Regions from separate parts of the Homo sapiens genome. Here regions 1, 2 and 4 are each linked to region 3. Evidence: promoter capture Hi-C in 16 types of primary human blood cells and fetal thymus (Javierre and others, 2016). All regions are on one chromosome and are shown on one strand. Each heading gives the region's core, a stretch centred on a gene start or on the middle of the fragment in contact. The rest is flanking DNA. Distances are from core to core; before and after follow the strand shown. Region 1 overlaps MND1 (meiotic nuclear divisions 1). Region 2 overlaps MND1 (meiotic nuclear divisions 1). Region 3 holds the start of RNF175 (ring finger protein 175). Region 4 overlaps TRIM2 (tripartite motif containing 2).

Region 1 (3,089 bases), core at 444-2,943, 350 kb after region 3:
TATTTGCTTGGCCTGAAAAAAAATTATATATATAAAATGAAATGTATTTATATATATATATATATATATACACACAAAATGATCTTTAGCTATGTATACATTTGTATTTTTTCATATGAACAAAATTTTTATAAAATTTATGTATAAAATGGCTATGAAAAAAGCTGAAATAGTGACATAATATTGTATTTTACAAACTCTTGCAAATTCCCAAGGAAATTTAGGGAGTTGCAGTAGTATTAGTAATTAATGGAAAGTCAAAGTGAACAATTTCCCTTTCCTAAGTGTCCATCATCATTGTACTTGCTCCTTTAAAGACAACATGTAAGTTTAAATGAGATGTTTTTCAAACAACTCACCATACCAAAATACAACAAAATAAGTTAAATTTAACGATAAGAATTTTACTATATAGGCATTATAAGACCACAATAAGTGTGACTCTAAAAAAAATTTTAGGGATAAGAAAGTAATCTCATAGCGGGAAGTATTTACTTTTACTTTAAATACACATCGTGCTATCAAATGTATCTGTATGTATATTATGTACTTCGAGTTACTCTGCACAGCATGTAACAATGCCATGATTAATGGGGCATTAACTATTACTTACAATGATGGCATTTTTAATTGAAAGATAATTTATATGTCACAAAATTCAGCATAGTAAACTATATAATTCAGTAATTTTTATTTATTTATTTACTTATTTAGGGACTGGGTCTCACTCTGTCTCCCAAGCTGGAGTACCATGGTGTGATCATAGCTCACTGCAGCCTCAAACTGGCGGGCTTAAGCAATCCTCCTGCCTCAGTTTTCTGAGCAGCTGAGACTACACGCATGCGCCACCATGCCCAGCTCATTTCTTGTAGAGATAGGGGTCTTGCTATGTTGCCCAGGTTGGCCTCCAACTCCTGGCCTCAAGTGATCCACCCCATCTTGGCCTCCTAAAGTGCTGGGATTACAGGTATGGGGCACCATGCCTGGCTTTCAGTGGTTTTTATGATAGTCACAAAATTGTACAACCATTACTACTATTTAATTCCAGAACATTTTTTCATCACCCAGAAAAAACCCTTGTGCCCCTTAGCACTCACTCCACATTCCTTCTCCCTCCGTCCCCTGGCAACTACTAACCTAGTTGCTGTCTTTTCTCTATGGATTTCCCTTTTGTGTACATTTCATATGAACGAAACATACGATATGTGGTCTTTTAGGTCTGGCCTCTCTCACTTAACACAATGTTTTCAAGGTTCATTCATGTATCAATACCTCATTCTTTTTTATGCGAAGTACTATTTTACAATTTGCTTATCCATTCATCAGCTGATGGACATTTGGGCTGTTTCTGCTAATACGAATAATTTTTGTGTGGACATATTTTCAATTATCTTGGGTATATATTTTGGCGAAGAGATAAATTGTTTGCCAAAGTGGTAGCACCACTTTATAATACCACCAGCAATCTAAGAGTTCCAGTCTCTCCACATTCTCATCACTTATTATTTTCTATTTTTTTTTGAGATGGAGTTTTGCTCATTGCCCAGGGTGGAGTGCAATAGCGCGGTCTTGGCTCACTGCAACTTCCACCTCCCAGGTTCAAGCAATTCTCCTGCCTCAGCCTCCTGAGTTGCTGGGATTACAGGCATGTGCCACCACACCCAGCTAATTTTGTATTTTTAGTAGAGATAGGGTTTCACCATGTTGGTCAGGCTGGTCTCCAAGTCCCAACCTCAGGTGATCCGCCTGCCTCGGCCTCCCAAAGTGCTGGGATTACAGGCGTGAGCCACCGTGCCCGGCCTCATTATTTTCTATTTTTACATTATAGCCATCCTAATGGGTGTTGATATGGTTTGGCTGTGTCCCCACTCAAATCTCATCTTGAATTGTAACACCCACAATTCCCACGTGTTGTGGGAGGACCCCAGTGGGAGGTGATTGAATTATGAGGGCGGGTCTTTCCTGCCCTGTTCCCATGATAGTGAATGAGTCTCACAAGATCTGATGGCTTTAAAAATGGGAGTTTCCCTGCACAAGCTCTCTTCTCGTCTGCCACCATGTGAGACGTACCTTTCACCTTCCACCATGATTGTGAGGTTTCCCCAAATACGTGGCACCGTAAGTCCAATAAACCTCTTTCTTTTGTAAATTGCCAAGTCTCAGGTATGTCTTTATTAGCAGTGTGAAAACAGACTAATAGAAGTGTGAAGTAGTATCTCACTGGGGTTCTGATTTGCATTTGCTAATGATTTTGTGCATCTTTTCATGTGCTTATTGGCCATCTGTGTATCTTCTTGGGGGAAGTGTCCGTTCATATCCTTTGCTCATTTTTCAACTGGGTTGTCTTTTTATTGTTGTATTATGAGTTCTTTATATATTTTGGATACTAGACACTTGTCAGATACAGGACTTGTGACTATTTTCTTCCATCCTGAGTTCACTTTTTACTTTCTTTTTTTCTTTTTGTGATGGAGTCTCTGTCACCCAGGCTGGAGTGCAGTGGTACAATCTTGGCTCACTGCAACCTCTGCCTTCCTGGTTCAAGCGATTCTCCTGCCTCAGCCTCCCGAGTAGCTGGGATTACAGGTGTGTGCCACCACACCCGGCTAATTTTTGTATTTTTAGTAGAGATGGGGTTTCACCATGTTGGCCAGGCTGGTCTCAAACTCCTGGCTTCACATGATCCACCTGCCTTGGCCTCCCAAAGTGCTGGGATCACAGGCATGAGACACCGCGCCCAGCCTCTTTTTACTTTCTTGATATTGTACAAAACTTTTTAACTTTGATGAAGTCCATTTAACTACTTTTTCTGTGGTTGTTTCTGCTTTTGGTGTCATATTCAAGGAATTGTTGCTTAACCCAAGGATAAAGAAATATAAATCCGGCCTGGCACAGTGGCTCACGCCTGTAATCCCAGCACTTTGGGAGGCCGAGACGGGCAGATCACGAGGTCAGATCAAGACCATCCTGGCTAACACGGTGAAACTCCCTCTCTACTAAAAATGTAAAAAATTAGCCTGGCGTGGTGGTGGGCGCCTGTAGTCCCAGGTACTCGGAGGTTGAGGCAGGAGAATGGCCTGAACCCGGGA
Region 2 (2,963 bases), core at 456-2,955, 380 kb after region 3:
ATGCTAAATCAGTGGAGAGAACAGATGTTTAATCTATAGACACTTATACATGCACTAAGAAAGTTGACTACTATACTGAAGTCCCTTATAAGAAGGGAGTTGTTAAGGATAAGGAATGTGGATTGGGCTCTTTCAGAGACTCCATACAGGTATATTTAATTAGCAAAGGAGTCAAAAAACACCAGTTGTTATCAACAGCACTTTGCACATGTTGGGATATGATTTGCCAACTGGTGAGACTATTCCAGGTATCAACATAGAATATATGTCAGCTCTGGGGAGAAAAAGTAGTCTAGGACAGTAAATAGTCTTATTTGCTAAAATGAACCCATAAACTTAGGCAGCATTTCTCCAAAGTGTATTCCATGGATCACCAATCCCTCATAAAAATGGGTTGAATGAGATTCACAATGCATGCTGGCATATTAAAGCTTTAGAAAAGTCAAACTAGTTTATCTTTGTCAACCCAGGATTGCTCAAATTCCTTTGATTATAGAACCCCCTTTTATGTAACACTTATCATATATCCATTCCACAGAATTACTTTGGGTAATGCTGAGCTCAGGCCCAGCAAAATATAATTCAGGTAAGCTAGTAGAAAAAAAAGTTAAAAATTCACATTTAATTATTTCTATACAATATGTATTTCTGAAGCTGAGTTCTAGAAAAAAAATCAAGATTACTAAAATAACTATTTAATGGAAACCACCTTTTCTGCTGTATGTGTAGACTGGGAGTCAAAGAAAAGGTATGGGCCAGGGAGTAAGACTACTGGACCCAGTACACAATAGCTGGGACAGAAACAAGGCTGTGATATATTGATTTATGCATTCACTCAAAATTCATCATGTTTCTGTATGTTTCAGTGTGTCTCAGAGACTGCATTCCACGTGGGAGATAGAAAACGATTAAGATATAGACCCTGCCTTCAAAGAAAGTCTGCCATAGAAAACAAGGCACATAAGGACTTCACTTGAGAAAAGATATATATAAAAGACAGTCACAGCACAAAAAAGTATTATACTCTGCTGAGGAGGAAGGGATTAAAAAACTTCCAAGCAAAAAGAACAAGGCACATACAACTATAATTGGTCCATTATAGATAAAGAAAAAGAAAAAAGCCAGGCACAGCATGTAAATGGCGGAAGTTAAATCTGAATCTAGGGAGTCTAGGTCTAGAGTCTACTCCCTTAAATCACTGCGCTATAGTGCCCTTCACCCTTCAATTCCCTTATGAGCTCCCACAGATCTTTCTAGCACCAACTTACACGTCTCCTTAACTATAAAGCCTTTTCGGAAGCAGAACTGACTTTCACCCTCTTTTGTACTATCATTATTTTTCAGCATTGCATATATCACACCATATTGCAATGATTTGTTGACATGGCCATCTCTTCATTAGAGTGAGAGGTTCTAGAGAACAGAAACTACCTAATTCATTCTTATGTCCCTCTCATCAATCACAATGCCTGCCATAGCAAGCATTCACTAAACATTTACAGAACTGAATAAACTTCAGTAGAGATGCCTATTTTTATTCAAAAACATTTCAAGTTATCTACACAGCCCAATAATTAACCTACTCTTGATGCACTCAGTTTTAGCTATAAAGAACTGTATATATTCACTTCTAAAAATTGGTAACAAAACAAAACAAATACTTAAGTTGTCCTAAGAATATCTGTTAGTGTCCTCCCTAAACCAATACACAATATCTAAAATTCAGCTTAGTATGGATTTCAAAATGTAATCCTTATCATAAGCCAATCCCTAAAAAATATGTCCCCAAACTACCTTCCAGTGGCAACAAGTGGGGTATAAACCAGAACTTGGATGAAGAACTAAGGAAGAGGTCAGCAGGGGAAGAAAACAAAATAAAGATTTTGATTTTCATAATTCTGACCCATTAACTTTAAATAAAACTCAGTCAAAAACCACTACATAGACTTGCTGCCATATTAATAAAATTCTCCAAATTAGTATAAGGTTTTTGTTAAGAATAACTTCATACCCTTTATTTCCTTTAATTTTCATTCACTTGTCAAATACTTGAATCTACCACATGCCAAAAACGGTGCTAGGTACTGATACAAGTTGACTAAGACATGGGGTTGAGTAAGCCAACAATTGTAGCATAGTCCAGCAGATTAGAGTTATGCTCGGGGTACCACAGCACCAGAGAAAAGGAATATGTAAGTCAGAACAGGAAGTGTGGAAGGGACGGACAGGGGTACAAATACAAAAATAAATTTTGGAAATTCTATTCTTTTTGGAAAAAGACTAAAAAATGTGCATTTCAAGTCAGTAGTGGTCAGTTACTTCCTGTATTGCCAGGTGACTCCAGGGGAATAGCAGGTTAAACATAACAGTTACAACATTGCTCTTTCCTGGCTGTGTGCACATCACAGTACCCCATGCTATGTCCACTAACACAAGCCAAAGTAAAATGGAGGAAGTCATTCCCTTGAAGTTGAATTGTTCTTTCATTCTTAAGACCAAGTTATTTGGGAAGGGCAAAGAAGAGAACCAGAAGATGATGGGAAGAACCTATCCTTACACATTTTTACCTGGCTTTTCCTTAGAAAAAATATTCAGAAAGACCACAAACACACTCACTCCTTTTCTCTTTCAAGTGTGTGTGTGCACACACCCACAAACACACATCCACACACACAGTGACTAAATCATTACCACACGGGGGAAAATGAACAAGTTCCAGCTAAAATTCTAGAAATAGCTATCAAGAAGAAAAAGTCATCTCTTGACTTTTAATAATTTCTATATATTCTTCAGCATACAGAGAAATGTCATTTCAGTTGGAAGTTTCTACAACATAATTAATCTTTATAATTATTATCTGTCGAGCCAAAATAGCTGCTTCACTATCATCCAAATACTAAAAAAATTTACATATATTTCAGGAGAACTAGCAGATTAGAACATGCACTACCACTTTCATCACT
Region 3 (2,773 bases), core at 154-2,653:
CCGGCCCTTGCATCCACTGTTCTCTCCATCTCAGACACTCTTTCCAACACACTCTGATCATGCTACAAGGTAGTCTTCAGATGTAGGTAACAGCCCCAGCGGCACCTGAAAACTTGTTCAAAAGACAAATGCTCAGGCTCCACCCTAGACCTACTATATTAAAAACTCTAGGGCTCAACTCCAGCAATCTGAAGATTTTTGTTTTGTTTTTTGATAGAGTCTCGCTCTGTTGTCCAGGCAGAAGTGCAGTGGTTCCATCACGGCTTACTGCAGCCTGAACCTCCCGGGCTCCGGCGATCCTCCAGCCTCAACCTCCTGAGTAGCTGGGGCTACAGGTGTACCACGCCCAGCTCACTTTTGTATATTTTATAGAGATGGGGCTTCACCATGTTGCCTAGGCTGGTCTCAAACTCCTAGGTTCAAGCAATCCGCCCGCCCTGTCCTCCCAAAGTGCTGGGATTAAAGGCATCAGCCACTGTGCTTGGCCAGCACTCTGAGTTTTAACAAACTCAGCATTCCTCCATAGGATTCTGATGCCCAGTTAAGGCTGGAAAACCAAGGCACCATCCGTGATAAATTGTACTTAGATGCTTATTTTTCTCTATCCCCTGTTAGGCTCTACGTTCCACAATGGCAGAGAAATGTCCATCTTGGTCTGTTCACCTCCTTTGTAGGTGTTGACAAATACGAGCCATCACAAACTGGAAAGGGGTAAGCTGTATTTCGTAGGACACATCATCTAATTCTGTGCTCCTCTTTTCTGTTTCCCCAAATCAACACCCAGGTATTTCTAAAGGCTTGCCTAAACGTTCCAGCTTGTTCTCAACCTTGAAGCCAGGCTTAGGCCTAAGTTGTAAAGGCGGGAGGGGAGACCCTGGAGGTAGAGGGGCAAAGGCAAGATGCTTGCGTCGCAGGGGCCCTGCATGGCCTGGAGCAGCATAGGGGCCAAGATGGTCTGCGCTCTCCCTAGATTGGAGTTTCTCTCCTTCATCATCTTTGGAGGAAGCACAGATAACTGAGGAAAGTCTGTATCTGCACAGCCACCCGAACTCCTGCCTCCTAATAAACACCTCTGAGGGAGAGGAAACTCTCTCTCTCTCTTCTCTTCCTCCCCAGCACCCCTCGCCCCCCCACCGCCATTTCTCACTCCTCTACTCCCCTCTCTCTCCCTACCCACCTCTGACCCCTCCTCCAGTCCTGCCGCCCGGTAACAAAACCGGGGTTCCCGCCACACGCACCCGGTAGGGCTCAAGACGCTTTATCGGCGACAATGGCTGGCTGAATGGGAGGCCTGAGGTTCTGAAGGAACCGGGGTGCTGGCGACCGGGACCTCGAGGCCGCTGCTGGGGAGGACGCTGGCCAGCGTGCAGGGGGCGGAGGCGGGGCGTGCCGGGAGGCTCCCATCTCCCGCCCCGCACAACCCGGGCAGGGCCGCCGCTCCGCCGCCGCCGCAGATCCGGCTCTCACCCTCGGCTCCCGAGGCCCCGCGGCGCCTCCTTCTGCGGACTCTGCGGGACCCTCCCCGGCAGGCGCTGTGCCCTGGAGAAGGCACAGTGGCTCAGGCATGGCCGCGGGGACGGCGGCGCGGAAGGCAGCGCCGGTGCTGGAGGCCCCCCCGCAGCAGGAGCAGGTACTGGCGCGGGGGCGCGGGCGTGGGGGACGCCAGGCCGGGGTCCCGGGGCTCACGCTGGTGCCGGGCAGGCTGCACAGACTGGTCTCCAAGACCCCGGGCCCCACCGGGGAGAACCGGCCCTGGAAAGACGTGGGGACGGACGCATGACCTTCTGGAAGATGCCACCGTGCGGGGTGCCAGTCCCTCCTCCACTCCCTCCCTCCCCACTTCTGTGCCCTCCCCGCTACCTTCCTTTCCTCCTTCTGATCCTCTTCCTTCGCTCCATCCCTCTTCTCGCATCCTCGCACTTTCTCTTCCAGGCTCACCCCTTCCACTCCCGCCCTCCTTTGTGACCGCCTGTGCCCTCCTCCCTCCTCGGCGGAAGCCCCCAGAGCCCAGGGTCAAGGTCGTAAGCTGCGAGAGAGGGGAAGGGGTGTACTGCAGGCTTTTGGCTAGACCGCCCTGGTTCTCAAACTCGAGTGTCATCAGAATCACTCGGAGGGCCTGTTACCACGCAGACTGCTGGTCTGTGCCCAGGGTTTCTGATTCAAGATGTGTACCCTGATCGTCAGCTTGTCTTGCCTGGTGCTCAACCTAGCCCATTTCTGCTTCTGCTGGCGTCAATTGCAAACCCAATCTTAATTTATTCTTCGTTCATAGGACAATTCTTCTTAGGCTACATCCAGGTACCAGGAGGATTTGGGGGTGGAGGAGGGTAGGTCTTACCTGGAGGAACCCAAATCCCATCCGTAAAACGAGGACAAAAATAACTCTTAAGGGCAAAGATAACTCTTAAACAACAACAAAAATCACTCACAGAGCGGGTAGGAAGAGATTAATGTCCCAAAATAGGTTCAGGCAAAGAACTGTAGGATTTCTGAGAAGGGCTTGCTCCTGACTAACCCCCTTCTCCTCCAACCCGTGAGGGCGTGGCATTCGAGCTGGGTGTTGGGGAATGGACAGGATCTGACCTCATGGGCCAGAGAATTCTAGATGGAGGGAACAACAGTACCAAATGGCTTGGAGATTTTTTTTTTTTTAATATTGGGATGGATGGCCATGGGACAAGGCAGAGAGAGGGGACTGTCCACTCTGACTGCCAGAAACCTAGGGGTCAGGAATGCTTATAGCAAAAAATAAGGGTGGGCTAGGCTGTGGAGG
Region 4 (2,837 bases), core at 270-2,769, 440 kb after region 3:
GAGTGTAGGGGGGACCTATGCCACCATGTGAGCATCTCTGGAGAGACAATATGGCAGGGAGCAGTTTCAGAAAAAAGCAACGGTGGGCACCCTGTTCCCTTATCCTGACCCCATTTCCGCAGCCCACTGTGCGCTACTGTCTGCACAGGGACTTGGCACCCATCAAAAAGATCCAAGCCCTCTCCATTTACTCAGGTTAGAGGCTCTCCAGGATGCAGAAAGGACATCACAGAGAGTACCTTTGGGTGTTAAAAAACCTACCCCTTATCTAGCTATCGCAGTCATTAGCACTGATAAGTCATTATTAATTTTGGTTGCTCAGTCATTGTTTCTAAGTGCAAACTTTACTCACTGGCATACCATCCTCTGCTGTTTCCTTATCATTTTTCCTTTAAAATGACTCACCTTTTAAAATTTAGATTAATGTATTTAAAAGAAAAACTTTATTATGTCTGTAAGTGCAAAACAGCATCACTTGATGTAAACAAAAGGTAGCCCTAAAATAAATGCATAACTTAAAATAAAAATATCCACCAGTGTACTGCCTATGGCCACGGATCATACCTTCAGTGGAACATGCATCACACCTTGAGAAGCCTGATCTAGGATATTACTAAATATTTCCTCATCATTTCAGTAAGTGAGTAATGTGTTTTGAACCATTTTATTATTTCCTGATTTTCTCATAATAAAGTTCAATTCTCTCTCCCCTGGTACCTAGTAAGAAAGATATACTATAGGTCACTGTTTTCTAAAGAACACCAAATGTGTGAAAGCATTCTAAGAAGTATAAAATATACTGTATGAATGTATGCTAGGATTATCCCCCTCCCCATGCTGTCTGTTGTTGTAACAGAGTCGAACATCTAATTTTTTTTTTAACAAAAAGATGCGGAAAATTGAAAAAGTGATTTTAATTTATTGACTAGCCACAAAACATTAAGCTTCAGAAAGTTCTGCCTCTAAGTTCAACGAATTGCTTTTTAAAATTTAATTTTCAAGTCCTCTTCATTTGCACCAGTTTCAAATTAAGCAACTTATTGCCACCACATTTTATTCAATTTCCTGACTTTCCAAGGTCTGTAAGTCCAAGTTAAAACCGGCATCTTTGAGCAGAACAAAGTCTACTCTGCTGGTTAACTCCCTTTGGTGCCATATGTAAGTATTGCATTATTTTCTCGCAGACCAATTTCTCCATAAAAGCAGTTAAAAGTTAACAACAACTCATGTGCTTGTAGTACCTTGACAGAATGATTATGGAAATCTGTAATAATAATCTCATTATTGCTATTTACAGCTGCAAAATGGGGACCTGCAATAAAGATGGAAAAAAATATGTGATGACTACAACAAAAGTGATTACATATAGCAGTTACTGTAACAAACAAACTTAATATATTAACTTAGTTATTTAAGAAAGTACAAAGAATCATAGACTCAGTCTTTGAAAGATCATTCAGCCAGACCTCCAGTTGCAGATAACATGGATCCTATATTATTCTCTACTTGCGCCAGTCTATTCTGACTCTTTCTCAAGCAGGCTGGGAGTTCTAGCAGCCCTAATGAAGTGGGAGGAGCAGTAAGCATCAGAATTCATTCTCCGTGCCACCATCTAAAAGTCACATCTGCCAGCTTCCCTGAGTATCTGTTAGTCATTTTAGAGCCCTCAGCTCCCACCAAGGAAAGACGTGGCAACTCAGCATTGGAAAAGAGACTCCAATATGTAATTTTTAAAAATTGATTAGCTGGACATGGTGGCACATGCCTGTAGTCCCAGCTACTTGGAGGGCTGAGGCAGGAGGATCACTTGAACCCAGGAGGTCGAGGCTGCAGTGAGCTGAGATCACGCCACTGCACTCCAGCCTGGGTGACAGAGCGAGACCCTGTCTCAAAAACAAAACAAAACAAAACAAAACAACAGAAAACCCACACTATAATTCTGGGTGACATTCAGAAACTTGGCAGAACTGGAGACAAAGCATAAACAAATATTATGCAAATTAATACTAAGTGCCAAAAGCATCCTTTCAAAAAGAAAATTAATAAGCTATTTTCAGCCTCTTCTTGCAAATGCAAAAACCTAAATAAGCTTGTGATTGCAAAGTGCTACACCAAAGAGACGTAAAACAGACTGCCCTCCTTAAACCTAGCAAATATTCTAGACTCCTGTTCTCTTACAATAACCTAGAAAGGTGAAAAAAAATTCTCATTCAGTGGCTTTTTAAGCAAAGTTACAGCTAGGCTGAAACAGTAGTTATTCCTTGTTTTTCAAATATTTTTATTTTAAAATTTATACCTTATTTAATATGAATATTTCAAAGCTAGACTTCTGAGTTGTGAACTGCCACCGATAAAAACCACACAAGGACTGCAGCTCAACTTACTGCCGGGTGGGTGGCGGTGACTAAGGCTCAAGCAACGAAACATGCTTTTGCTTAGATTTTATCCCCAGCATCTTTCCCAAAGCCAGCAAACACACTAGGGATGCGGTGTCTTCAACATGCTCCAACATCATGCAAATGTGAGCAGAAGAAGCATAAAAAAGGGGGTTTACATATTACCATCGAGTGTACCTGCAAACTGCCTGTCCCCATTTCCTCGGCTACCAAACCTGGTGACTATTTTCCCGTTTGGCTGGAAGATAAACACGCAGCACGCCTTGTTGTCCACAACAATAATGTGCCCATTGCGGTCCACAGAAACTCCTTTGGGTCCCATCAGCTTTCCTGATCCAATTTTTGTCTGTTTGAAACAAGTACAGAAATAGAAGTACAGTATAGAGTCAAAGTTTAAACCACTACAGAACATGAAGATAAACACTGTTTTGGTCAACATTT

Evidence for each region. Contacts are between HindIII fragments. The CHiCAGO score rates a contact against its expected background, and 5 or more counts as called.
Region 1: a fragment that was not itself captured here is called in contact with the fragment with the promoter of RNF175 in region 3 in 1 of 17 cell types (neutrophils); the score reaches 5.7 in neutrophils.
Region 2: a fragment that was not itself captured here is called in contact with the fragment with the promoter of RNF175 in region 3 in 1 of 17 cell types (neutrophils); the score reaches 6.2 in neutrophils.
Region 4: a contact is called between a fragment that was not itself captured here and the fragment with the promoter of RNF175 in region 3, in 2 of 17 cell types (activated CD4 T cells and M2 macrophages). The highest score is 5.2, in activated CD4 T cells.

The regions. Positions count from the first base shown.
Region 1 is chr4:153,405,894-153,408,982 of GRCh38, reverse strand. It overlaps MND1 (meiotic nuclear divisions 1), which reads right to left. Exons shown (of 8, transcript NM_032117.4): 7 at 1-12. Among named protein-coding and RNA genes, the nearest start is that of TMEM131L, 59 kb to the left of the region's middle. The HindIII fragment of the contact is 8,859 bases long and covers 1-3,089 here.
Region 2 is chr4:153,375,982-153,378,944 of GRCh38, reverse strand. The region is part of intron 4 of MND1 (meiotic nuclear divisions 1); the gene reads right to left. Among named protein-coding and RNA genes, the nearest start is that of MND1, 33 kb to the right of the region's middle. The HindIII fragment of the contact is 2,543 bases long and covers 434-2,963 here.
Region 3 is chr4:153,758,654-153,761,426 of GRCh38, reverse strand. RNF175 (ring finger protein 175) reads left to right here and starts at 1,403. Exons shown (of 9, transcript NM_173662.4): 1 at 1,403-1,630. The coding sequence starts at 1,565. The HindIII fragment of the contact is 8,763 bases long and covers 1-2,773 here.
Region 4 is chr4:153,322,553-153,325,389 of GRCh38, reverse strand. TRIM2 (tripartite motif containing 2) reads right to left here. Exons shown (of 12, transcript NM_015271.5): 9 at 2,574-2,742; 10 at 1,242-1,312. Among named protein-coding and RNA genes, the nearest start is that of MND1, 21 kb to the left of the region's middle. The HindIII fragment of the contact is 1,145 bases long and covers 947-2,091 here.